Regions from separate parts of the Homo sapiens genome. Here regions 1, 2, 3, 5, 6 and 7 are each linked to region 4. The links are contacts of gene promoters, found by promoter capture Hi-C in blood cells and fetal thymus (Javierre and others, 2016). All regions are on one chromosome and are shown on one strand. Each heading gives the region's core, a stretch centred on a gene start or on the middle of the fragment in contact. The rest is flanking DNA. Distances are from core to core; before and after follow the strand shown.

The links. Contacts are between HindIII fragments. The CHiCAGO score rates a contact against its expected background, and 5 or more counts as called.
Region 1: a fragment that was not itself captured here is called in contact with the fragment with the promoter of CAB39 in region 4 in 2 of 17 cell types (naive B cells and total B cells); the score reaches 6.8 in naive B cells.
Region 2: a contact is called between a fragment that was not itself captured here and the fragment with the promoter of CAB39 in region 4, in 3 of 17 cell types (naive B cells, activated CD4 T cells and total B cells). The highest score is 5.8, in naive B cells.
Region 3: a contact is called between a fragment that was not itself captured here and the fragment with the promoter of CAB39 in region 4, in 2 of 17 cell types (total B cells and naive B cells). The highest score is 8.3, in total B cells.
Region 5: a contact is called between a fragment that was not itself captured here and the fragment with the promoter of CAB39 in region 4, in 1 of 17 cell types (naive B cells). The highest score is 6.9, in naive B cells.
Region 6: a contact is called between a fragment that was not itself captured here and the fragment with the promoter of CAB39 in region 4, in 5 of 17 cell types (total B cells, total CD8 T cells, non-activated CD4 T cells and 2 more). The highest score is 7.1, in total B cells.
Region 7: a fragment that was not itself captured here is called in contact with the fragment with the promoter of CAB39 in region 4 in 2 of 17 cell types (non-activated CD4 T cells and naive CD4 T cells); the score reaches 6.2 in non-activated CD4 T cells.

The regions. Positions count from the first base shown.
Region 1 is chr2:230,240,633-230,244,412 of GRCh38, forward strand. It overlaps SP140 (SP140 nuclear body protein), which reads left to right. Exons shown (of 27, transcript NM_007237.5): 4 at 772-855; 5 at 3,099-3,179. Among named protein-coding and RNA genes, the nearest start is that of SP140, 17 kb to the left of the region's middle. The HindIII fragment of the contact is 7,592 bases long and covers 1-3,780 here.
Region 2 is chr2:230,363,385-230,367,322 of GRCh38, forward strand. The region is part of intron 5 of SP140L (SP140 nuclear body protein like); the gene reads left to right. Among named protein-coding and RNA genes, the nearest start is that of SP140L, 38 kb to the left of the region's middle. The HindIII fragment of the contact is 2,179 bases long and covers 1,600-3,778 here.
Region 3 is chr2:230,274,589-230,278,059 of GRCh38, forward strand. The region is part of intron 15 of SP140 (SP140 nuclear body protein); the gene reads left to right. Among named protein-coding and RNA genes, the nearest start is that of SP140, 51 kb to the left of the region's middle. The HindIII fragment of the contact is 3,406 bases long and covers 1-2,979 here.
Region 4 is chr2:230,711,011-230,714,895 of GRCh38, forward strand. It overlaps CAB39 (calcium binding protein 39), which reads left to right and starts at 1,832. Exons shown (of 9, transcript NM_016289.4): 1 at 1,832-2,220. It overlaps LOC124907996 (formin-like protein 16), which reads right to left and starts at 2,316. Exons shown (of 4, transcript XM_047446832.1): 1 at 1,069-2,316. The coding sequence starts at 2,316. The coding sequence ends at 1,558. RefSeq lists a silencer at 1,604-2,543. The HindIII fragment of the contact is 1,861 bases long and covers 1,561-3,421 here.
Region 5 is chr2:230,298,317-230,302,101 of GRCh38, forward strand. All of the region lies in intron 22 of SP140 (SP140 nuclear body protein), which reads left to right. Among named protein-coding and RNA genes, the nearest start is that of SP140L, 27 kb to the right of the region's middle. The HindIII fragment of the contact is 1,414 bases long and covers 1,806-3,219 here.
Region 6 is chr2:230,318,680-230,322,555 of GRCh38, forward strand. No RefSeq gene overlaps it. Among named protein-coding and RNA genes, the nearest start is that of SP140L, 6.6 kb to the right of the region's middle. RefSeq lists an enhancer at 798-947. The HindIII fragment of the contact is 4,319 bases long and covers 44-3,876 here.
Region 7 is chr2:230,417,657-230,421,197 of GRCh38, forward strand. It overlaps SP100 (SP100 nuclear antigen), which reads left to right. Exons shown (of 29, transcript NM_001080391.2): 2 at 1-9. Among named protein-coding and RNA genes, the nearest start is that of SP100, 3.2 kb to the left of the region's middle. The HindIII fragment of the contact is 3,455 bases long and covers 263-3,541 here.

The DNA of each region.
Region 1 (3,780 bases), core at 283-2,782, 470 kb before region 4:
GCTAAAATTAAAAAGACTGACAATACCAAGTGCTGATGAGAATATGGAACAATTGGACCTCCCATCCCTTGCTGGTAGGAATGTAAAATGATAACGACCACTTTGGGAAAGTGCCTGGCAATTTCCTATAAAGTTAAATCTAACCTATGATCTTGGCAGTTTCACTCCTAGGTATTTACATGAGAGAAATGAAAATATGTTCATGCAAAGATTTGTTTAAGAATGTTTATGGCAGCCTTATTCATAATAACTAAAATCTGGAACCAACCCAAATGCTCATCAACGGAGGGTAGATAAACTATGACTAATTTATAGAGTATAATACTATTCAGCAATAAAAAGAATGAACTGTTATCACATAGAGCAACATGGATAAATCTCAAAAACATTATGTTGAGCAAAATAAGCAAGTTGTAAGAGTACATACTGCATGATCCTATTTATATAAGTACAAGTACAGACAATACAGACAAGTACAGTGCCAGAAAGGAAGGCGCCATTGCTGGTGATAGGAACCAGAACAGTGGTGTCTTAAGCACAAAGCAATTTTCTGGGATGGTGGAAATGTTCTGAATCTTGACTGGGATGTTGGTTTCACAATGATTTACACTTAAGATATGTGCCTCTCAATGAAAAAAAGGGGAACAAGGCTCTGTTGGACCTCGGGGGTGGGAGATCCTGGGGCTTGGACATCAAGTTCATCTTGAGCACACTGAGGTCTCTCCTCTGGTCACTGTCTGAGTTTGGTAATTTTCACATTGTTTTCCTCAGTATGCTATGAACACTCACCTCTCCAAATGAATAATGTAAACGATTTAGAAGATAGACCCAGATTACTACCATATGGTAAACAAGGTAACTATCATTTAGCTGATCAATGCCCTTATTAAAGTTTTGCTTCCTTGCCTTCATGGAGGCAAATCTTGTATTTCCTCTCCTGTCTTAGCCCTCTGTTATCTCCCAGTCCTCCTCCCCTCACACAGCCATGTACCTGCCCTTATCTGCCAACAGATGTGAGAGAACCAATGAAAAAGGAGATCTGATCTCTTGAATAGATGGAGTCTCCATTGGTGGAGAATATAAGAAGAGAAAATGGGAAAGGTAGACAGAGAATAATACAGGACAAATTACATGAATGGATTCCATCTTCTAAAGGAACATAAAAGTCCTACCCTCCGAGGTTGAGATAAGGGGATTATTTTTAATTAATTTCATAGAACTATTAAGAGAAACTCAGAAATAACCTAAGCCATATCAGATTCAGGTGAGAGATATTCCTTACGGAGATGACCAGTTAGGGGTCTCTAGTACTGTGGTCACAGTCCAAGAGGGGAGTTTGGATATGGAGAGAGAGGGGAGCCTGAAAGATAGAATTGCGCAGGGAGACAAAACTGAAATAGTGTTGGCAGATAGAAGATCAAAGTGAAATGGGAGAAACAGAAATGGAAAGAGAGGAAGTATAAGACACAGCAGAGAAAAGGTAAACCGAAACATCTGCCAAGGATCAGAGGTAAAAATGGAGAGAGAAGTATATGGAAAAGGAAAGATGAGAGGAAAATAAATACCAAGAAATGGGGAAAGTAGAGAGGTACAGAGGCAACTATGTAGATAAAGAGTTAAGAAAAAAAGGGTGTAAAACACTTGAGAGTGAAAAGTGGATAAAAGGGAGAGAGAAACAGACTGGGACAGTGTAGGTTTGAGGTAAGAGCACTGGATATCCATAACTTTACAAGGGTTTATTCCATTAACCGTAAGTTTTCAGAATGAACTGTTCCCACATCAAAGTGGCACTTGCATGATACTCAGATTTCAATAGATCTCTCCCAGAATAGTCCAATGATTCCCAAGCACAAATCTCCACTCTAAATTATCTTTAGAGTACATTTATTCATGGACCTGAGGACCTTTACTCAAGGGTCAGATAGACATCTACACTTGATTTTTTTCAAGAACCTTAAACTTGGTACTTTGAGAACTGAAAGCCACATCTTCATTGCTCAAGTTAGATCGAACTCCTCTGCAGCACTCTTTCTCTCAGAGACGGATCACTATTATCCCATGGTTTTTCAAGTTGGAAACCTAGTCAAGTCATCATGGATGACTCCTCCCTTGCCCTCAAATACATGCCAGTTATGCAGCCAATGTAATCATTTCATCTTCAGGTTGCCCCTGGCCTGTCCATCTTTGCATCCCCAAGACCAGGTCTCTGGTCCAGATCTCCATCACCCTCATGATTCTCAGGGCAACATCCTTTGCTCATCTCCTCCCTCTAATCTTGCTTCCATCAAATGTGTTATTTGCACTTCAACTAGATGGGATATTTTAAAGTGCACATCAGATTGTATCATTTTCCTACTTACCTCCTTAATACACTAAGGATTAAATAAATGGGTTTTTAAGTAGCATCCAAAGGCATCCACAATGAGCCACCTGCTTACTTCTCCAGCTTAATCCCTGCCTCCTGAAATATTACTTCAAGGTGGAATAAAATTTCCCCCAATAATTTCAATTGTTAAATCTCTCTTTCAAACTGAGCCTTTCCCTATGTTTTCTCTATGCTGCCTTATTTAGAATTGTTTTCCTGTCCCACTATCCTCCATTTACCCTTCTCCAATCCAGCTAAATCCTACTTAGAATATATGATCAAAGGGAGGTCTTTCTTTAGAGAAAGCTAGAAAGGCACAATTGGGAGACCAAGGATGGGAGAGAAAGAGCAGTATCAGAGAAAGCAAGAGAAAAAATTTGCAGGAGCAGAGAAGAGAGAAATGCATCTAGGAAAGAGAGGCTCCAAGAAACATCCGCAGAAAAAAACAGAGGCAGAGATTGAGGAAATGTACAGAAACAGGTGGAAAGACATGAGTGAGAAAATGGGAAAGAGAACAAGGTATAAGGAAAGGAAGACTCCCCCACAGTGGATGAATTATTCTCAGCCTCTGGTGAAGGTTACTGAAGGACTGAATCCTCAGGTCAGGTTGTTTGGGGAGAGGGGACCTTCCAGATTATCAGGTTTTCTTAGTTTTCTCATTATTTGTTTTCTTGTTTTGATGGCTTTTTGACCATAAATCAAGACATCTAAGGGATTTCATTCCTTTCGGCAGAGAACAGCAATGCCTGTCATGAAATGGATGATATAGCAGTGCCTCAGGAAGCCTTGAGCTCCTCGCCAAGGTGTGAGCCAGGTAAGGAAGGAGTGACTTGCTCTCCCTGACCTGCAGGGTGTCAGGAGGTGGAATTCAGAGCTGGTGTTTCCTAATGCATTTTACTCTGAGTACATGCCACAGGCAAAAGATCCATTTTGTCCTTGGATCCTATAATTCTGCTAAATTTTCCTAAGTGTATGTTATAGTAGAAATATGCTAGAGAAGGATGATGTCTTTCATGTCTACTAATAATAAAAACTTGATTATACCTACCCACCACTTACTTTCTCTAGAGAATAAAAACGATTATTGTTTGTTACTATTATTATTTTGTCCCTTACTATAGAAAGCCTTCAAAAGAAACATGTTCCATCAGACCAACTACTCGAAAAACTAAATGATAATTTTTGCCAAATATTTTCCATTGTGTTACTATCTTATCTAGTTATTGTTCAAAGAATTTTGGCAAACAAGATGTCATTTTATCTCCACAGCTTATGAATTTTGATGGATAAACTTTTGCTTATTTGTATTTTATAGCTAAATAAAGTAGAAGTAGAAGCATAGCAATGTGTAAGGTCTTTTACCAGGTCAAATTAGTCAAGCAAGAACATGACCCACATCCCTGCTGACTCACTGC
Region 2 (3,938 bases), core at 1,439-3,938, 350 kb before region 4:
GGTTTCAATTTGTATTTTCTTGATGATTTGTGATGCTGGGCATTTTTTCACATACCTGATGGTCATTTGTATGTGTTCCTTTGAGAAATATCTGTTTGAATCCTTTGCCCACTTTATAATCTGTTTATTTGTTTTTGTTTTTTTTTTTAGTATGGAGTTGGTTGAGTTCCTTACATATTTTAGATATTAGCCCTTATCAGACATATGGTTTGCAAATATTTTCTCCCTTCTGTAGGTTGTCTCTTCACTCTGCTGATTGTTTCCTTGCCCATGCAGAAACTTTTTAGTTTGATGTAGTCTCACTTCTTTATTTTTGCTTTTGTGATTGTGTTTTTGGTGTCATACCAAAAACATAATTGCTCAGACCAATGTCATGGAGCTTTTCCCCTGTTTTCTTCCAGTAATTTTGCAGCTTCAGGTATTAAATTTAAATATTTAATCCATGTTGGGTTGATTTTTTAATATGGCATGAAATAGGGTCTAATTTCATTCTTCTGCACGTGAAGATCCAGTTGTCCCAACATCATTTATTAAAGAGACTGTCCTTTCCCCATTGCGTGTTCTTGGCACCTTTGTTGAAAATCAGTTGACCAAAAATGCATGGATTCAAGCTCTCTATTTTGTTCCATTTGTCTATGTGTCTATTTTATGCAAGTACCATGTTCTTTTGATTATTATAGCTTTGTAGTATATATTGAAGTCAGGTAGTGTGATGCTTTCAGCTTTGTTCTTTTTGCTTAAAATTGCTTTGGCTAGTTGGGGTCTCTTGTGCTTTTATACAAATTTTTAATTGTTTTTCTATTTCAGAAAAAAATGTCTTTGGAACTTTTATATGATTTGCGCTGAATCTTTAGAGCACTGTGGATAGTATGAACATGTTAAGAATATTAATTAATCCAATCCATGAACATGGGGTATCTTTCCATTTTTTGTTCTTCTTCTATTTCTTTAATCAACATTTTAGAGTTTTCAGTGTACAAATATTTCACCTCCTTGGTTAAATTTATTCTTAAGTATTTTCATTGTAAATTGGATTGTTTTATTGATGCCTTTTTCAGATAGTTCATTGTTAGCGTATAGAAATGCAACAGATTTTTTATGTTGATTTTGTATCCTGCAACTTTACCAAATTTATTAGTTCTAGCAGTTTTTTGGTAGAGTCTTCAGGGTTTTCTCTATATAAGATCATGTCATCTACAATTAAGAACAATTTAACTTCTTCCTTTCCACTTTGGATGTCTTTTATTTCTTTTTCTTGCCTAATTGTTCTGTCTAGGACTTGCAGTACTGTGTTGACTAGAAGTGACGAGAATGGACACCCTACTCTTGTTTCTGATCTTAGAGGGAAAACTTTCAACATTTTACTAATGACTATGATGTTAGCTGTAGGCTTGTCATATGTAGATGGTAGTGTTCTGAGGTACATTTCTTCTATAACTATTTTGTTGAAAATTTTTATCATGAAAAAAGTTGAATTTTGTCCAATGCTTTTTCTGCATCTATTGGGATAATCATATAATTTTTGTCCTTCATTCTATTAATGCAACGTATGACCTTTTAAGATTTGTGTGTTGAACCATCCATGCATCCCAGTGATAAAGCTTACTTGATCATGGTGAGTGTGCTGTTGAATTTGATTTGATAGTATTTTTTGAGGATTTTTCACATATGTTTATCAGGGATATCAGGGATATCATATATGTTTATCAGGGATACTGGCCTGTAGTTTTCTTTTCTTATAGTGTCCTTGCCTTACTTTGGTATCAGGGTAATGTTGGCTTCATAGACTAAGCCTACAAATAGACCCCTTATTCAATTTTTTAGACGAGTTTGAAAAGTATCAGTATTTATTATTTAAATGTTTGGCAGAATTCAGCAGTGAAACCATCTGGTCCTGGGCTTTTGTTTGATGGGTGGTATTCAATTCTGGATTACATCTCCTTATTCATTATTGGTCTGCTCAGGTTTTTATATTTGTGTTGGTAGGTTGTATCTGTCTAGGAATTTACCCATTTCTTCTAGGTTATCCAATTCTTTGGTGTATAATTGTTCATAGCAATCTCTTATGGTCCTTTGTATGTCTGTAGTATGAGTTACAGCGTCTTCTCTTTTATTTCTGATATTATTCATTTGAGTCTTTTCTTTTTTTTTAGTCTAGCTAAATGTTTGTCAATTTTGTTTACCTTTTCAAAAACCAACTCTGTTTAGTTTATCTTTTCATTGTTTTTCTAGTCTTTATCTCATTTATTTCTGATCTAATATTTATTATTTCCTTCTTTCTACTAATCTTGGCTTTAGTTTTCCTTTTTTGTCTGAAGTTTCCTAAGGTGTAACATTAGGCTGTTTGAGATCTTTCTTCTTTCTTGATGTAGGTGTTTATTGCTACAAACTCCTCTTCTTTGAACTGCTTTTGCTGTATCCCATCAGTTTTGTTATGTTGTGTTTCCATTTTCATTTGTCTCAATATTTTTTTAAATTTCCTTTTAATTTATTCATTGGCCTATTGGCTGCTCAAGAGTGTGTTTAATTTCCATGTATTTACAAAATTAAAAAACTCTTCTTGTTATTGATTTCTACTTTTATATCATTGTGGTCAGAAAAGATACCTGATATAATTTCAACCTTCGTGACTTTAAGTTTGTAGCCTAATGTATGATTTATCTTGGAGAATGTTCCATGTACAAGTGAGAAGAATGTATATTTCACTCCTGTAGAATAGAATGTTCTTTATGATGCTGTTAGGTCTATTTGGTATAAAATATAGTTTACATTTTATTTGTCTTTGTGGATTTTCTGTCTTAATGATCTATCCAGTGCTGAAAGTAGGGTATGAAAGTCTTTTACTATTATTGTATTACAGTCTGTCTCACCTACAAATCTATTAATATTTATTTAATATATATTTGGTTGCTCAGATGTTGGGTGCATATATATTAGTGTGCAATTATTATGTCATCTTAACAAATTGACTGCTTCATCATTATATAATGATCTTCTTTGTCTTGTTTTAGTATTCAATTTGAATTTATCTCATCTGATATAAGTATAGCTACTCCTTCCTTCTTTGGTTTGCATTTGCGTGGAATATTCACTTCTATCTTGTCATTTTCAGTCTATATGTATCCTTAAAAGTGAAGTGAGTGTCTTGTAGGCCATAGATACTTGAGTTTTTTTTTATTATTATTCATTCAGCCACTCTGTCTTTTGATTGGAGAATTTAATCCATACTTAACATAACTATTTATACTTAATATAATTATTGCTAGGCAAGTACCTACTACAACTATTTTGTTCATTGTTTTCTGGTTGTTTTGTGGATTATTATCTATTATTATTATTATTATTATTATTATTATTATTATTTTTGGAGACAGAGTCTCACTCTGTCACCCAGGCTAGATTGCAGTGGCATGATCTTGGCTCACTGCAACCTTCGTCTCCGGATTCAAGTAATTCTCCTGCCTCAGCCTCCTGAGTAGCTGGGACTACAGGCGCATGCCACCAAGCCTGGCTAATTTTTTGTATTTTAGGTGAGATGGGGTTTCACCATGTTACCCAGGCTGGTCTCGAACTCCTGAGGCAATCTGTCCACCTCGGCCTCCCAAAGTGCTAGGATTACAGGCGTGAGCCACCATGCCCAGCCTGCTTTGTAGATTCTTTATTCCTTTCTTTCTCTCTTCCTTCGTTTGTGATTAAGTGATTTCCTCTAGTGGTATGCTTTGACTCCTCTTTAGCTTTTGTGTAAATACTATAGGTTTTTGCTTTGTGGTTAACATGAAGCTTACAAAAAATATCTTATAGTTATAATAGGCTGTTTTAAGCTGATAGCCTACAAAAACTCTGTACTGTACTTTTACTCTAACTTCTCATTTTCTTTTCTTTTCTTTTTTTTCCTTTCTTTCTTTTTTTTCTTTTTTTTTTTTTTTGAGACAGAGTCT
Region 3 (3,471 bases), core at 27-2,526, 440 kb before region 4:
CAACCCTCAGAATTATGAGACCACAAATCTGTGATTTTTTTGTCACTAAATTTATGGTAATTTATTACAGCAGCAATACCTTTTGTAAGACAAAAAAAAAATTTCACCCTATACGGTTATATTCAATCTTCTAAACTAACAATTTATATTTTTTCAAATTACTTACACCTTTATGCTTTTTTTTTCTGATTTTAAAATACTTGTTCCCTGTAAACTTTGCTGTACATATTTCTATATTTTTTTCTATGCTTTGTTAGCACATTTAGAATTATGTGATATATCTAAATGAATACATTTAAACTGTTACATTTCTTTTTAAATCAATATAACATGCACTGGATATTATAAACATTTAATATCTTGCCAACTTAACTGTAAAAAAAAGTTTTATTTCATTCCTGTTTTAACTTACATTGCTTTCATTTTTGGTGCAGTTGAGCATTCTTCATTTGTTATTGGCCATTTTTGTTTCTTCTCCTACGAGTGCCTGGAACTTATATTTTGCCAGTGTGTTGTCTTTTTTTCCCCATGCTTTAGGACAACAGGAATACTTATATATGATATATACTAAGGGTTGACTACGTGTGTTGTCATATTTGATGTTATTCTTTTACGTTTCTTTGTGGTATAGGCACATCTCGTTTGATTGCACTTCACTTTATTGTACTTTGAGGATATTGTGAGTTTTACAAATTAAATGTTTGTGACAACCCTGTGTCAAAAAAAGTCTGTTGGTGCCCTTTTTCCAACAGCATGTGCTCACTTTGTGTCTCTGTCACATTTTGGTAATTCTCGCAATATTTCAAATTTTATTATTATTCTTCTTCCTGTTATGGTAGTATGAACAGTGGTAACAATGATCTTTGATGTTACTATTCTAACTGTCTATGGCACCACACACTGTGTTCGTATAAGATGGCAAACCTAATAAATGTTGTGTGTGTTTCAACTGCTTCACTGACCAGCTGTTCCCCTGTCTCTCTCCCTCTCTTTGACTTTCCTCTTTCCTGAGACAAAAAAATATGGAAATTAAGTCAATTAATAATCCTACAATGGCCTCTAAGGGCTCAAGTTAAAGGAAGCGTCACATGTGTCTCACTTTAAATAAAAAGCTAGAAATGGTGAGGCTTAGTTAGGAAGCCATGTCAAAAGCTGAGAGGCTGAAAACTAGGCCTGTTGCAGCAAACAATCAGCCAAGTTATGAAGTGCTACTCCAGTGAACATACGAATAATAAGAAAGTAGAACAGTCTTATCGCTGATATGGAGAAAGTATGAGTGGTCTGGATAGAAGATCCAACCAGCCACAACATTCCCTTAAGCCAAGCCTTAATCCAGAGTGAGGCCTAAACTCTCCTCAATTCTATGAAGGCTGAAAGATGTGAGAAGCTGCATAAGAAAAGTTTGTGGCTAGCTGATGTTGGTTCCTGAGGTTGAAGGAAAGAAGCTGTCTCATAACATTAAAGTGCAAGGCGAAGCTGCAAATGCTGATGTAAAAGCTGCAGAAGGTTGTCCAGAAGATCTAGCCAAGATCCTAGATGAAGATGGCTACACTAAACAACAGTTTTACAGTGTAGACTAAACGGCCTTTTATTGGAAGAAGATGCCATCTAGAACTGTCATAGCTAGAGAGGAGAAGTCAATGCCTGGTTTCAAAGCTCCACAGAACAGGCTGAGTCTCTTGTTAGAAGCTAAGGCAGCAGGTGACTTTCCCTTGAAGCCAATACTCATTCACCATTCTGAAAATCCTAGGGCCCTTAAGAATTATTCTAAGTCTACTCTGCCTATGCTGTATAAGTAAAATAAAGCCCAGATCATAGAACATCTGTTTACAACATGGTTTACTGAGTATTTTAAACCCACTGTTGAGACATACTCCTCAGAAAAAAAGATTCCTTTCAAAATATTACTGTTCATTGACAGTGCACCTAGTCATCCAGGAGCTCTGATGGAGATGTACAAGGTGATTAGCATTATTTCCATGCCTGCTAACACAACGTCCATTCTGCAGCCCATGGATCAAAAAGTAATTTCAACTTGCAAGTCTTAATATTTAAGAAACACATGTTGTAATGCTATAGCTGTCTCTATACATAATGATTCTTCTGATGAATCTTGGCAAAGTCAATTGGAAACCTTCTGGAAAGGATTCACCATTTTACATGCCATAATAACATTCATGATATATGAGAGGAGGTCAAAATATCAACATTAACAGGAATTTAGAAGAAGTTGATTACAATCCTCGTGGATGACTTTGAAGTGTTCAACACATCAGTGAAGAAGTAATTGCAAGTGTGGCAGAAATAGCCAAGAGAACCAGAATTAGAAGTGGAGCCTGAAGATGTGATTGAATTGCTGCAATCTCATGATAAACCTTGAGTGGACAAGGAGTTGCTTCTTAAGAATGAGCAAAGAAAGCAGTTTCTTGAGATGGAATTTATACCTGGTGAAAATGCTGTGAACATTGTTGAAATGACAACAAAGGATTTAGAATATATTAGTTGATAAAGCAGCAGCAAGATTTGAGAGGATCTACCGTGATAAAATGCTACTCAATAGCATTGCATGCTACAGAGAAATCTTTCAGGAAGAGCCAATCAATTTAGCAAACTTCATTACTGTCTTATTTTAAGAAATTTCCACAGACACCTCAGCCTTCATCAGTCACCACCCTAGTCAGTCAGTAGCCACCAACATCCAGGCAGGACTTTCCACCAGCAAAGAGATTATGACTTACTGAAGGCTCAAGTGATCATGAGCATTACATTTAGCAATAAAGTATGTTTAAGATATGTTCATTTTATTTTAGACACAATGCTATTGCACACTTAATATACCACAGTATAGTGTAAACATAACTTTCATATGCACTGGGAAACCAAAACATTTGTGTGATTTACCTTATTGCAATATTCACTTTATTGCAGTGGTCTGAAACCAAGTATTTCTAAGATATGCCTGTATCTTTATCCCAAAGAAGCTTGAAATTTTTATCTGATCAAATCTGTCAGCCTTTTCATTTATGGTTTCCAGGTTTTATGTAAAATTTGCAAATATATTGTCCACCTCATAATTTAGAAACATGTTTACTTACTTCTAGAATATTTGGAATACTTTTTAATGTTTAAATCTATAACACACATGGAATTCATTTATTGGTATATGATGTGAGATGGTAATTAAGAGATATAACACTGGTAGTTTTTTTCTTCATGATTCAAAATACTATTTTATGTATGTTTTCCAGTATATACAGAACTGTGTCTTATCACATTTCTTTATCCATTCATCTGTTGATAGAGACTTAGGTTGTTTCTATGTCTTAACTACTGTGAATTATGCTGCAATGAACATGTGGATGCAGATACCTCTTTAAGATATTGGTCTCATTTCCTATAAATTCATACCCCAAAGTGAGATTTCTGGATTGTATGTATTTCTGTTTTTAACTTTTTGAGGAACCTCCATAC
Region 4 (3,885 bases), core at 582-3,081:
CCTTATCTTTTTTTTTTTTTTTTTTTTTTTTTGAGATGGAGTCTCCCTCTATCGCCCAGGCTGGAGTGCAGTGGCGCGATTTCGGCTCACTGCAACCTCCGCCTCCCGGGTTCAAGCAATTCTCCAGCCTCAGCCTCCCAAGTAGCTGGGGTTATTTTTGTATTTGTAGTAGAGACGGGGTTTCAACATACTGGTCAGACTGGTCTCGAACTCCTGACCTCAGGTGATCCCCCTGCTTCGGCCTTCCAAAGTGCTGGGGTTACAGGTGCGAGCCACCACGCCCGGCCGGACAGTCTTATCTTTTGGCTGGCTGATTTCAACAGGCTTCTCGCTGGTCCCCCTGCTGAAACCCTCAGGGCTTTCAGTCTGGTCCTCATACCACAGCCACAGGGATCCTCCTGAAATGTCATTCCACGTCCTTTCTCTGCTCGCAACCCTTCAAATTGCTTCCCATCTCCTTGAGAGTAAAAACAGGAAGTCCTAACTTTGGTTGGTAGGGCCGCACTTCTTCCTCATCTCTTCCCCTATCTGGGGCCGCTTTCAAGCCAGCAGATTCTCGCCTCAGGGCCTTGGTCCTGCTATTCCCTCTGCCTTTCCATACAGAAAGCTCCCAGGCTCTCTCTCTCCAGGAAGCTGCTCCCTGAATGAACACTGTAAATAACAACACCCTGCTTTCTCTCCCCTCCTCACCCAGTGGTGTTTTTAACTGTCCAGTATTTGTTTTTTTGTTGTTGTTTTTTGTTTGTTTTGTTTTTGTTTTTTGGAGATAGTCTCGCTGCGTCGCCCAGGCTGGAGTGCAGTGGCGCGATCTCGGCTCACTGTAACCTCCGCCTCCCGGGTTCAAGCGATTCTCCTGCCTCAGCCTCCTAAGTACCTGGGAATACAGACGCCCGCCACCACGCCCGGCTAATTGTTTTTTGTATTTTTAGTAGAGATGGGGTTTCACGGTGTTGGCCAGGCTGGTCTTGAACTCCTGACCTCGTGATCCGCCCACCTCGGCCTCCCAAAGTGCTGGGATTACAGGCGTGAGCCACCGCGCCTGGCCCAATTGTCCAGTATTATACATACCTGTAGGTTTATTAGTCAATTATTTGTCAACTGTTTGTGCTAGGAGCATGGACTGTTTCGCTCACTGCCCCATCCCTGACGTACAGGAGGCGCTTAAAAAGTAGTTCAGTTACACATTAAAAACAAAGAAACAAAAATACACACATATGGCATTTGTATGTGCCAGGCTCCGTTGTCAGAGCTTTGCAATGCACTGTCCCGTTCATCCTCAGAAGCCCGTGGCTGGTACCACTATATTATTACACACTTTTTTTTTTAATGTGTGAGGAAATCCAGGCACAGGGACGTGAAACAGCCCATAGATAGCAAATGGTGGAGCAGGACTTAAATCCAGGTTGCTGATTTAAATAGGAATATTCCCATTAATCTGGAACGTTCTGGCACTTGTCCCCCTGGATGCTGTGTCCCCCTGGATGCTAAAATGAAGCGATCTGCTCCAAGAAAGTAAGAATCGGTCTGCACAAAGTGGGATCCCGGCCTCTCGCAGAATTAAGCTTGAAGAGTTGAGGAAGTGGTCGTTGAAAGTGGGCGTGCGATTCCCGCAGTAAGAGCGCTCAGGCGGAGGAGAAAGGGCTGAGCCCCGCCTTGGAAGCTGCGGCGGAGGAAGAGGAACTGCGGGGCTTGGCTTCTGCTTTTCTCTGCGGCCCCTCCCGCTCGGGCCTCGCGCCTACTTGCGGCGCCCTGAGTCCGCCGGCCGCTCGGGGGCGCCCGAGGCGGAAGGGGGCGTTGCGGCACCGCCCGACGTCGCGTCCTCGGCGGCTGCGCAGTGCGCACGTCAAAGCCGGGCTCGGGCCGCAAGCGGGGCGAGGGGTTCGGGGAGCGGCGCGGCCTGGGAGACACAGAGCCTTCAGGCGCCGGGGCGGGGGCACAGGCGAAGACTAAGGCGGCGCCGGGCCCCACAGCAGCAGCCGCAGCCCAAGCGAGCGCAGCAGCGCGGCGGCAGCCGCGGGAGCCCCTGGGCAGCCGTCCGCCCGCGCAGCCGCCGCCGCCGCGGGAGCCCGTCGCCGGGAGCAGGAGCGGGCGGAAGACAACGGAGGGGCCGAGCGTCCGAGCCACTCCGCGGGGACCGAACGAGCAGCCCGAAGCGGCGGCGGCCGAGGACGGGGACAGCGACGACGCGGAGGCAGAGAAGGGAACGCCCGGCCCAGCCCCGTGAGTGACCCCCGGCCGGCCCTGCTCGTGGTGCGGACGCCTGCCCGGCTTCCGCCTGCCCCGCTGGGCCCTCACCGGCCCCGGGGCTGCCTCCATTTTCCTGGGTGGCGGCGGCCCCGGCCCAGCTTGTCCCCGGAGCCCCCGGGAGCAGCCGGGCCCAGCCTGCCCTCTCCGCCCGGCTCGGCTCCGGTCCCTCGCTGAGACGCTCCCTTTGCCTTCGCCGGCGTGGGGCGCCCGGGGGCCTGCAGTCCAGGCGCTCCTGCCTCTCCCCCCGTGGTTCTCTGGCGGGGCTGGCGGCGCGTGGTGGTCCGGGCCGGAGTCGGGCGGGCGGGGAAGTGCGGGCCGGGTCAACTGTCACCGGCTGCACCCGGGCTTCAGCGCCTCGCTCCCGCCCCTGGTAAACTTCCTGTTGTCGGGAGGCAGATACCAGCTTTGTGACCAATTCAGGAAAATGCCTAACTGATTTCTGGTTAGGAATTGGGCGGTCGGAGCGTTCTGGAGTTCAATGGAACCACCCCAAGCGCAGACTGCGTGCAGGCGCCGTAGTCGGCCCGCACCGGAGGGATTCAAAGGTGAAGCGGGCCCCGGTCCCCTCCCCCGAGGAGCTTAGGCTCTGGTGTGAGAGATAAGACGAGAACACAAATAACTGCGATACCGGGAAGGAGGTGATAAGTCCTGTGAAAGAACGACGGAGTGCTAGAACGGCACCCGGAAAAACCGAACCGATCACTTCTGCCTCGCAGAAACCTGGAAGGCTTCCTGGGCGGGGGATGCTGAGCAGAGTCTTGAAGGCCTGATGGGATTTAGGAGAGGAGGATTGCAGAAGAGGTGTGTGGAAGGGGTAGCAAAAGCGAGAAGACAAAGCCTAGAAATCATGGATAATTCCGTTTGTTGGCATGGTGCAGGGGGCGGGGGGTATTGGGCTAAAGAGGTATTTTGGGGCCAGATCCTTGAATGCTGTAGAGGAGCTATTTGAGCAGCATTCTAAGAGAAACTTAGAGCTCATTTCTCAGTGACTCATGAGCCCGGAAATGTAGGCTAGGGGATATTAAAGGCGCTCTTGTGAAAGGAGAGAGGAGGAGGCCCAGTCAGGAGTTGACATTCTGTGCCTTGAATGTAATGCAGTTTCAGATCGATTTTGACAGCTTCCCAGATAATCAAGTAAATCCATGCCCAGGCTAAGCAAAGTACCTTTGCAGAAAGCTTCATTAGATATCAGGCTCTTAAGAGGTAATGGAAAGGTGTCTATAAAATAAGCTCATCTGCACACAGAAGGTGTTTCTATTTGTGCGTTCGCTACAGTGCATAAAAACTTCTTGCACTTTGTATTAGGCGTATGTACTTTGGAATTACTAAGCTAAACCTACATTCTTTGAGGTGGCATTTGTGTAAAATAACATAAATTGATGATTTTTAAAAAATGGTTAGTAATATTCTGCTGTAGAAAGCCAGACGTAGACCTTTTACAGAAAGGTAAAACTTTGTTTTTATATTTTATTTTATTATGAAATCTTTATAGTAGAGCCAGAAGTGAAAGTGTTTAGCTTTATTTTGTAGTTTGTTCAAATTGTTAGGAAGTAATTAGCAGCTGTATTCGAAATCTAGAATATACGATCTGTGAAAGCAGCTTAGGGCCTAAGTTTTGTAAGCTTGCACTTGTTTGCG
Region 5 (3,785 bases), core at 1,263-3,762, 410 kb before region 4:
ACTCACATAGAATATCATGCAATAGCACTGACACATGATACTTAACAGAGGAGGGATGCTCAAATAGTTTTATACACACCTTACCTCCAAAGCAGTCCTCCAATCAGATTTAGGTCTTTTCCACACTGATTTTGATGTCTGGCCAACTGAGGGACTTTTCAATAATTAAAACAGCCCTGGAAGTCAGTGTTTGTGTGGCTGATTTTGGATGGACTAGGCATGGAGGTTTAGGTTTCACAGCTCACAGCCAGATATGTGTGGGGAGAAGAGGGAAACAGTTCCAGCAAAGGTATGGTCACCCCTGTTAATAATTTTTCCAAGGCCAGTAACAACATTGACTTATAATATCCCCATGCGTCCATAACCAGACTTTGCTTAGGTTGAATCTCATATTGTCCTGCAGCCTGGAATCACTTGAAGAGCTTTAAAAAAATATTGTTTCCTGGATCCCACTTCTGGGGAAATTATAATTTAATCATTCTGGACTATGTATGACTGGAACATTAGGATTTGTTTAAGATCCCCAGATGTACTAATTCTGATACATAGAATTGCCTATTCTGTCACCTAAAGAAGAATACCAGTGCCTGTGCCTCAACCCTGACCCAGTGATTCAGAATCTCTGGTGTTGGGTTCAGGACATTAGCATTTTATATACTCTCCTGAGAGGAGTCTAATGTACAGCCAGGCCAACAACCAAAGAACCAGAGAAATCAAATCTCTTCTTGAAAAGATGGGTTTGGAGAACAAAATGGCAGATAGGAGGCAGGACTAACTTGCTCCTCCTACTCAGATGGACAGAACAGCGTGTTGAGACTCACACTGTGAACTTTTGCTCCAAGAACCACTGCAGGAATATACCAGCAAAACTGAAGGAAGTCACACACCCTTTAAAAGAAGTGGCTTGCCACCGCAAACTCTGGGAGATAGCCAAAAAACCGTGAGTCCTCAAAGTGTGAGAGGGAAAAAGTCCACCTCTGAACACATATCCTCACTGGGGAACCTGGAAATCCAGATCACAGGAGAAGGATTTCACCTAACCTAGAGCTGAAATGAATTTAGAAAGCTGGGTGAAATATAAAAGTAGAATAAGCAGCAGGAAGAGGTGCCTTCCCCAAGGATCCCTATAAGCATTTCAGTCCCCAGGGAAGCCATTTCTGACTTTATCTCACAGTCCTTGGGGAGGGCAGCCAGTACAATTTGCAGAGAGCCATGGGGAGAAGGAGGCTTCCAGCTGAACTTTGTAATAATTTTAACCAAGCACAAATTTTCCTGGTCAGAATCTGGGGGTGTGAACCTGAAGTACAGATATAAGTGCAGAAGCCATGGCAGGCAGGGAGGGGTGAGATCTGAAAGCCCTGCTTGCTTTCTCAATGGGGGTGCTTCTTCCTGGGGCAAGATCTTAGCTCCAGGCAAAGGATGCCTGGATATAAATTTGGCTCTGTTGGCTGTTGGGCACCACAGCGGGAGTGAGACTGGCCTTGCTGGCTGCCTGGGTGCTGGGTGAAGCCTGTCACTGCCGGCTTCCCTTACTTATCTGGTGAACTGTATGAAGCAGCAGAGGCAGGCATAATCCCCTCTGGAACATAAATCCATTGGCCTGCAAGCCACCCCTCATCCCCCACAGTGGCCACAGCAAGCCCTGTCTGAGAATCTGAGCTCAGACACACCTAACCCTGCCCCCAGCTGATGGTCTTTCTCTACCTGCCCCTGTAGCTGAAGACAAAAGACAGGGGCTCATGGGAGCTCTATGACCTCACCCATCACCTGAGAAAACCGAATACTTATCCAGTGAACTTAGGTCAAGCTTGTATCCCCCTCATATTACTTGCAGCTGATGGTCTCTTGAAAGTGCCACCTCCTCGCCGAAGGTCAGCCAACTCAAGTCATTACAGACACTCATACGAGAACCACCTTGCTCCAGGAAGGAGAAAACAACAACTAATTATACTGCCTGTAACATCCTGGCTAACCAAAGATCCTGAGTCTGTCCCTGTAACAACCTCACTGCTAGCATAACCAACATTTGAGAAAACCAGTGTACTAAACAAAACTACAATCAAGGACTCTCACAGAATCCACTTCACTCCCCTGCTACCTCCACTGGAGCACGTGCTGGTACCCATGACTGGGAGAACTGAAGACAGATCACATCACAGGACCCTTTGCAGATACTCCCCAGTACCAGCCCAGAACCCAGTAGCTCTTCTGGGTGGCTAGACCCAGAAGAGCAATAACAATCACAGCAGTTTGGCTCTCGGGAAGCCCATCCCTAGGGGAAGGGGGAGAACACCACATTAAGGGATCACCCTGTGGAACAAGAGAATCTGAACAGCAGCTCTTGAGTTTCAGATCTTTCCTCTAACGTAGTCTACCCAAGTGAGAAGGAACCAGAAAAACAATTCTGATAATGACAAAACAAAGTTCTATAACACCCCCAAAAGATCACGTTAGCTCACCAGCAATGGATCCAAACCAAGAAGAAATCTCTGAATTGCCAGAAAAAGAATTCAGAAGGTCAATTATTCAGCTACTCAAGGAGACACCAGATAAAGGTGTAAACCAACTTAAAGGAATTAAAATAATAATACAGGATATGGATGAAAAAGTCTCCAGAGAAATAGATATCATAAATAAAAATCAATCACAACTTCTGGAAGTGAAAGACATACTTAGAGAAATACAAAATACACTGGCAAGTTTCAACAATAGACTAGAACAAGTAGAAGAATGAACTACAGAACTCGAAGACAAGGCTCTGGAATTAACCCAATCCAACAAGAAAAAAGAACTTTTTAAAAATGAACAAAGCCTCCACGAAGTTTAGGATTATGATAAATGACCAAACCTAAGAATAATTTGTGTTCCTCAGCAAGAAATCTAAAAGTTTGGAAAACATATTCGCGGGAATAATCAAAGAAAATGTTGCTGGCCTTTCTAGAGATTTAGACATCCAAATACAAGAAGCTCAAAGAACATCTGGAAAATTCATCACAAAAAGATAATCACTCAGGCAGAGTCATCAGGTTATCTAAAGTTAAGATGAAGGAAAGAATCTATGAAGCAAAAACATCAGCTAAACTACAAAGGAAAACTTATCTAATGATTAACAGCAGACTTCTCAGCAGAAACCCTACAAGCTAGAAGGCTTTGGGATCCTATCTTTAGCCTCCTTAAACAAAATAATTATCAGCCAAGAATTTTGTATCCAAGAAACTAAGCTTCATAAATGAAGGAAAGATAAAGTCTTTTTCAGACAAACAAATGCTGAGAGAATTCACCACTACCAAGCCAGTGCTACAAGAACTGCTAAAAGGAGTTCTAAATCTTAAAACAATATATCAAAATATACCAAAATAGAACCCCCTAAAGCATAAATATCACAGGCCTATTAAAAAATAACACAATGAAAAAAATAAGGTATTCAGGCAACAGCTAGCATGATGAATAGAATAGTACCTCACATCTCAATACTAATGTTGAATGTAAATGACCTAAATTCTTCACTTAAAAGATACAGAATGGCAGAATGGATAGGAATTTACCAGGCACCTGCTGTCTTCAAGAGACTCACCTAACACATAAGGACTCACATAAACTTAAGGTAAAGGGGTAGAAAAAGATATGCCATGCAAATGGACACCAAAAGCGAGCAGGAGTAGGTATTCTTACATCATACAAAACAGACTTTAAAGCAACAACAGTTAAAAAAGACAAAGAGCGACCTTATATAATGATAAAAGGACTAGTCCAACAGGAAACTAGCACAATCCTAAATATGCACC
Region 6 (3,876 bases), core at 953-3,452, 390 kb before region 4:
GCCTGTCCCTGAGAGCAACAACAGTTTTGTGTGGCACAACCAAAGCTTTGATAGAAAGCCTACCTTCTTTGTGGTTGGCCAAGCCATGGGGAAGAGCCCAGAGCAACCAGGCTTTCTAAGGAATGAAGGGAAAATCCCAGAAGGCAAAAAGCCACAGAAAAGAACTCAGATAATGTGTATGACCCTTCCCAAGTCTCTGGCTGATGCCTGGAGTGAAGTGAAATCAGTCTGAACATAGAGCAGAGCTTTGCCCACTGCAGACAAGAACTAGAGTGTGGCTTGAACCTAAACACAGAAATCACCTGCCAGAACAAAAGCTCTTCCTGTTCTGATCCAAGCTAGAGTTAGCAATTAGCTGCCAATGTAGTCACTCTAGATGCAGACTGGACACTGGGTGCTGCAGGTCAATGTGACTAACCAGGTGCCTTCCCACCTTCTGCTATCACTTCTGTTCAGATTCCTCTGGGCTGGAATTTTTCATCTGACATGAAACCACCTCTTACTACCTTACATCAACACCGAGATATTGCTCTCCTGAAATCTTCATTCACATTTTCCGCCGAACTCCATTTGTGTGTGACTGAAAGAGTCTACACCAGTTCACACAAGGACAGCACACTCTAGAGTTGTATAGTGTGGCCCCGCCAGCATTAAGCAGGAAACTAGGGTGTGGCCTGTTCAGGGAAGGGGGTTACTTCTCTACTGAGACATGTGGTTACATATTTAACCGCATCCTGCCAGAGCTGCCAGAAAGGTGGGTAGGACCACTTTCCATCTCCTGTTCACCTCATCCTCCAGAGGGTTCATCCACAGTTGCCTGAGTCTGGGTGGGGAGGAGGATGCAGGACCTCAGCCTTGAGATCTCAGGACCTCGAGTCTTGGCCATATAATGATGTAGCCACCACTTCTGGCTCTCTCTCTGGTGTCTGTGTTCACTCCTCTGAGTCTCACAGAATGGGATTGTGCCCATGGCTGGTGCACTCTGCATGCCAGTGGACATGTCTGCTCTTAGATGGTTTTGTAACATCTGTGTCAGTACATGTGGCCCAGAGTGCTGTACAGGAGCTGGCTGGTGCTTTTTGTTTTGTGCTTATTCAGGAAATACAAGAAATAACTCCTGGGTTCCTGCATTGTGCCATTGTCTGAATGATAAATGGTAAATCCCAGCCCCACTTCCTCATGCTCCCCAGTGGGGAAGGACCCAATTTCCAATTCCAAATTCTTACAAGCACAGCTCAAGAATACCATTATTGTCATCACAGCTGAGCCTGGAATCCAGGCTCTGAGATAAATGCGAGCCCCTCACTTCCATAGCTCCACATTCAATGGGCTGAACATCCTCTAGAATTATTCATGAGAGAGGGTGTAATAGGCCATAGATGGTATGTGTTGGGAGTGCAGAGGGGTCTCCAATTCTCTCTGGAAAGGAGGGTGTCACCTACTAGACTGAGTCCACTGGCCATTCTCAACTGGCTAGTAGCTGCATAAGTGGATCTGTCAGGGAACTTACCCTTTATTCCCCTATACATCAAGAAAATGGATCAGTAGCAGATGAGATGGATGAGTTTTCTTTTTTTTATTATTATTATACTTTAAGTTCTAGGGTACATGTGCACAATGTGCAGGTTTGTTACGTATGTATACATGTGCCAGGTTGGTGTGCTGCACCCATTAACTCGTCATTTACATTAGGTATATCTCGTAATGCTATCCCTCCCCACTCCCCCCACCCCATGATAGGCCCCGCCCAGTGTGTGATGTTCCCCACCCTGTGTCCAAATGTTCCCATTGTTCAATTCCCACCTATGAGTGAGAACATGTGGTGTTTGGTTTTCTGTCCTTGCGATAGTTTGCTCAGAATGATGGTTTCCAGCTTCAGCTATGTCCCTACAAAGGACATGAACTCATCCTTTTTTATGGCTGCATAGTATTCCATGGTGTATATGTGCCATATTTTCTTAATCCAGTCTATCATTGTTGGACATTTGGGTTGGTTCCAAGTCTTTGCTATTGTGAATAGTGCCGCAATAAACATACATGTGCATGTGTCTTTATAGCAGCATGATTTATAATCCTGTGGGTGGAAAAAACTAAAGTTCATATGGAACCAAAAAAGAGCCCACATTGCCAAGACAATCCTAAGCCAAAAGAACAAAGCTGGAGGTATCACGCTACCTGACTTCAAACTATATTACAAGGCTACAGTAACCAAAACAGCATGATACTGGTACCAAAACAGAGATATAGACCAATGGAACAGAACAGAGCCCAGAAATAATACCACACATCTACAACCATCTGATCTTTGAGATGGATGAGTTTTCAACTTCAATGTCATTGTTGTGGGAATCAGCACAACTGTGTCAGTATGTTGTCCAGAAAGACATTGGACCAGAAGGCCCTGGAGGCCACCTGCTCCCCAAAACTTGTTCCACTTGACAGTTTTACAGCCCACCTGGCCCTGACAACCTCATCCCAAGGTGAGACACAAGATTCCCAGCAAAGCCTGGTTCCCAGGGCCATTTCATGGCCTGGCCAGACCAGGTGGTCCTGTGCTAGTGGGCTGGGGCCCTATATGATGCCAACCTGTTCCCTGGGCACAGCATTTGTACCCATGAAAAGCACGTGCACCAGTTATGAGAAATGCACAGGGCTGTCCCACCAAGCTCCCACCGCTTGGCCCTGGTGAGAGCTCATTAGACTTTATTTTGGATTTCTCCTAGACCAGATCTGTTATGACTGACAGGCTAAAAAGACCCACCTCATCCTCAAAACAGGGTTTTCTCAGCCCTTGCTAGGCACAGGTGCCCTGGGAGAACCCCCCCTAGTGGTCCAGTCAGCTGTTTCCCACCCACATTTCCAGGAGGAGCACCTGTGGAAAGGCAGACTCCACCCCTTCCCTGCACATCTCCTCCAGACCATGGTTGGCAGATGGGCATTGGCCTTTGCTAGAACTGTACTTCCTGTCTCATAATCTCTAAATCTTCATGAAGCTACACTTTCCACCCCACTCTTCCTTTGTTCAGCAACACTGAGGTCCTTGCCAGGTACCCTGTTCTTCATAGGAGCACCCACTTTCCAGCCCAAAGAAATGAAAGTTGCTGCCCATGAGGTGCTGGTGGACACCATCTGGATGGTCCACGAGGTACTCTCCTTCTCTCACCACACATGCATCACCTGGCAGTCCTAAGATCTAGGATAGTCCAGGGACCATTCCATTCCAGCTCACTGTGCTGAAACTAGTAGACACATGGAGGTTTGCAGAAATATTAGGAGTGAGGACTTGTTAAAAGGCTGCACATTTCGTTGAAGCCTTTGCTGCCTCCAGCCCCAGCCTCCAGGTTCTCTCCACTCCTGGTGGTGCCCAGCCCAGCATTGTTGGGACCCTGAAGCTCACAAGGAGACCTCAGTCCCACCACAGCTCAGAAGACATTCCTCCACCTTTCTGAGGGCAGGTTTGACCCCACAGCCTTAGTTCCACCCTTGTGGGGTACATCCAACATGGAGCTGCCTGGTTCCAAATATCCGATGATAGCTGATATTTGTGCTAATGGGGACCCACTGGTGAACACAGGAAGATGCCATCAGGAATCTCCAGAATGTGAAACGTGGTGAACCTGTAGAGAGTCGTTCTTTTTCAGTCCAGCAGTTGGGGCTCAAAGGGAAGCTAAGACTCAGAGGAGCCCTGTGACAGAGCAGGAGCACCATCATCTTGGACAAACACCACAATTTTAAGTTCACCTTAATTAAAAAGCCCCCTAAATCCAGCCCAAAAACATCAGCCTAATGGCTAATGTCAGCATAACCAGAAACATTCCAACCCTAAGATAAGCCACCCCCCTCCAACCAGAAACATGCCAACCCTGAGACAACCTC
Region 7 (3,541 bases), core at 740-3,239, 290 kb before region 4:
TTTGCAAAGGTGATGAATGAAGAGTTATGTCTTGTTTTAATTTGTATTTTCCTTACGATGGGAAAATTGATCAGCTTTTCATGTTTCTTGGCCATTTAAATTCCCTCTTCTATAAATTGCTTGTTTGTTTTTTGCCAATATGATTCCGTTGAGGTGTTTGTCCTTTTTTTCGTGATATGGGAGAATTCACTAAATATTCTGTAAGTATAAATATACTTTTCTTGTCCATTACCTTTGTCTATGGTGACTTTTATCTTATTAAAGCTTAAAACTTAACATATAGGCCTCTTGTGATACAGATTTTTTTAAGATAGATGCACCCTTGTTATAAACGAGGTGATGCTGACACCCTCTGTGAGCACTCTTAGTTTTTACAATTATTTCTGTGTTAAGGTGGCAGATTCGCTGCTACCGCTATTCCAGGAAGAGTTCCTCCTCTAATATCTCTGAAAATTTTTTAAATTTTTAAACAAAAATATTCTTACATTGGAGCCACTTTAGCCTTCACAGCTTTTATTTGCCCCGTTTTCATCTTTTCAGTCTTTCACTTTGTGTTCATAATAGTTGTCTCAAACTTTTCCTCCATGACAATTATTTACCTTCTAGTAGGTTTCTTGTTTCTTGTCATTTCTAATTTTTTAAAAATTGATAGTGTTTATTTTTGAGGAGGGATCTTAATTGGTTTCTGTACGCCTGCAAGCTCCATAACCTCTTGTCATTCAGTCTTCACAGTCTTGCTTTATTTAGGTTTGCCTGTGCTGTTAAGAACTTTGGGATATTCTCCTTGTTGTCTCTTAGTTATTTTTCCAGACTGATTCTGTCTGATCTTGTGTTCCACGTGCCTGTGGTGGCTTTACAGCTCCTCTAGCCAGGCTTGGCCAGGGCAGGTCACCCCAAACTTCCCGTTTGCTTAGTCATAATCTGGATGAACTTTTTTTCTTTTTTTTTTTAACATTCCCTGTTTTATCTGAGATCAAATTGTTTTTTGTCTGAGCTACAGTTTGAAGTCTTTGTTTTGATTCTTATCAATTTTTCTGAGTTCACCGTTGATTGATTAAATTATCCTTTTCCCTGCTGATTCGCAGTGCTACCCTTTTTGGGAGTATAGAGGCAGGGTGTGCTTCTGTGTTCTCTCTTCTCTCCCCTTGGCCGGTGACAGCCCCTCCTTATGCCAGTACCACGCTGCCATAGTGATGGCAGCTTCCCAGGAACTCTTGACATCTGAGGGAGCAAATCTCTTCCTCTTCCTCCAGAATGTCTTAGACTCCCAAATTTGCCTGTCAAAATCTCGAGATTTTGTGTGGAACTGCACTGGATCTATAAATCAATTTGAAGAGAATGGACATCTTTACATTCACGAGACTTCCATCTCATGAATATGGTTTATGTATATTATTACTTTAAAAATGTCTCCTATTAAAATTTGTATTTTTCTCTCTGAAGGTTTTGCCCTTCTGCTAGATTCCTTCATAGATATTTGATATTTTTATGCCATTATTAACTAAAGTAGTCCTCCCTTATCAACAGTTTTACTTTCTGAGATTTCAGTTACTTGCAGTAAAACTTGGTCCAAAAACATTAAATGCAAAATTCCAGAAAACAATTCATGAGTTTTAAGATACTTGGCGTTCTGAGGAGTGTGATGAAATCTCATGCTGTCCCTCTCCATCCTGCCCAGGATGTGAACCATCCCTTTATCCAGGGTATCCACAGTGTAGACACTACCAGCCCATGAGTCGCTGAGTAGCTGTCCTGGTGATCAGATCGACTGTCCTGGTATAACAGAGCTTGTGTTCAAGGAACCCTTATTTTAGTCAATAATGGCCCCAAAGCACAAGAAGGTTGATGCTGGCAATTCAGATATGCCAAAGAGAAGCCGTCAAGGGCTTCCTTTAGGTGAAAATGTGAAATTTCCTGAAAGAAAAAAATAATATGCTGAGGTTGTTAATATCTACAGTATGATGTTTTGAGAGACAAAAAGAGACCACATTTACATAATTTTTATTACACTACATTGTTATAGTTGATCTACTTTATTATTAGATATTGTTATTCATCTTTTATTGTGCCTAATTTATGTACAGATTGGGGAAAACATAGTATATGCAGAGTTTGGTACTATCTGCGGTTTCAAGCATCCACTGGGGTTCTTGGAAGCATCCCCTGTGGATAGAAGGGAACTAGTGTGCTAAATTTTACATATGAATTTGCGTTGGTGACCCATGATCTGATCCATGGTTCTATTTTCATTCTTGTTTCAATACTGAAATGTTTTAGTTACTATGATTTTATAGGTAGTGTTCTGTAACCTACCTTACTGGGATTGAATTGAGAGACACTAAATGAACAGATAAATTTAGGAAGAATTTATGTTTTAAAAAAATCCTGAATGGCCCCAGTGAGAAACATAGTAAATCTCTCCATTTATTCATGATTGTTTGAACTTGGGACCTTGTTGGGTCGCTTTAGTTCTAGGCATTTTAAAATTGTATTTGTAAACAGGAATTCATTTTCCTTTTACATTTTCTAGTTATTTCTTGCTGGCATAAGGGAAATCTATTCATTTTAGTTAGCTGATCTTGTGCATAGGAGTCTTACTAAGTGGTCTTCTCCCTCTTAATATTGTCTTGTGTTTTTCTGGAGAAATAATTACATCTTCAAAGATAGTAGCAGCTTTGTCTCCTCTTTTTCAGAATTTATACCTGTATACTTTTCTTTTTCTTTCTTTTTTCTTTCTCTTTTGCCTTAGCGCATTAGCCAGGACTGCCAGTGTAATACTGAATAGTAACAGTAAAAATGAACATTTTAGTTTTATTCCTGATTTCAAGGGGAATACTTATAATGTTTAAATTGAGGCTTTCTTATAGACACCTTTTTTCAAGTTAAGGACATTTCCTGCTGGCTCTGGTTTACTAAAAGTTATTTATTTTAATCAGGCCTGTGTATAGGATATTTATCAAAATGCCTACTAAAGAATCTTTGAGAATTGTATCATTTTTCTCTTTTAATCTGATTTATCCACAGTAAATTATATTGAAACATTTTATTAATTCGGTTATTAATTTCACCAAAGTAAAACATATATATATATATAGCTTAAAGTATCAGTCAATAAGACCTTTAAAAACACAAGTAGTACTTTCTGCCATCTTCCCAGCCCATGTCCAGTTTCCCTAATGGATTAACTTTTTGGCTCTTACTTTTGTATTTACTTCTGTATTTTGAAATGATGTGCTGATACAGCTCTTTGTAATTTTTCAAGTTTCAGACATTAATCTGTTCACATAATAGGACAGAAGATGAAGACTTTTTCCATAACACTCCTTTTCATTCCCTGTCCATTCTCATAATACATCACAGTTGGAGGTTCATCAGTAATCAGTGTTACCATTATGATGACTATTTACATGTTGTTCATAACCAAGTCATCTACTATATTATGATTACATTTCCTTTCCTGTGCAACATCCTCCCGCCCCTCCCCGCCGACCCCACAAATAACTATTGCCCTCTTATATATTTGCTTGGATTTTGTGTGTCC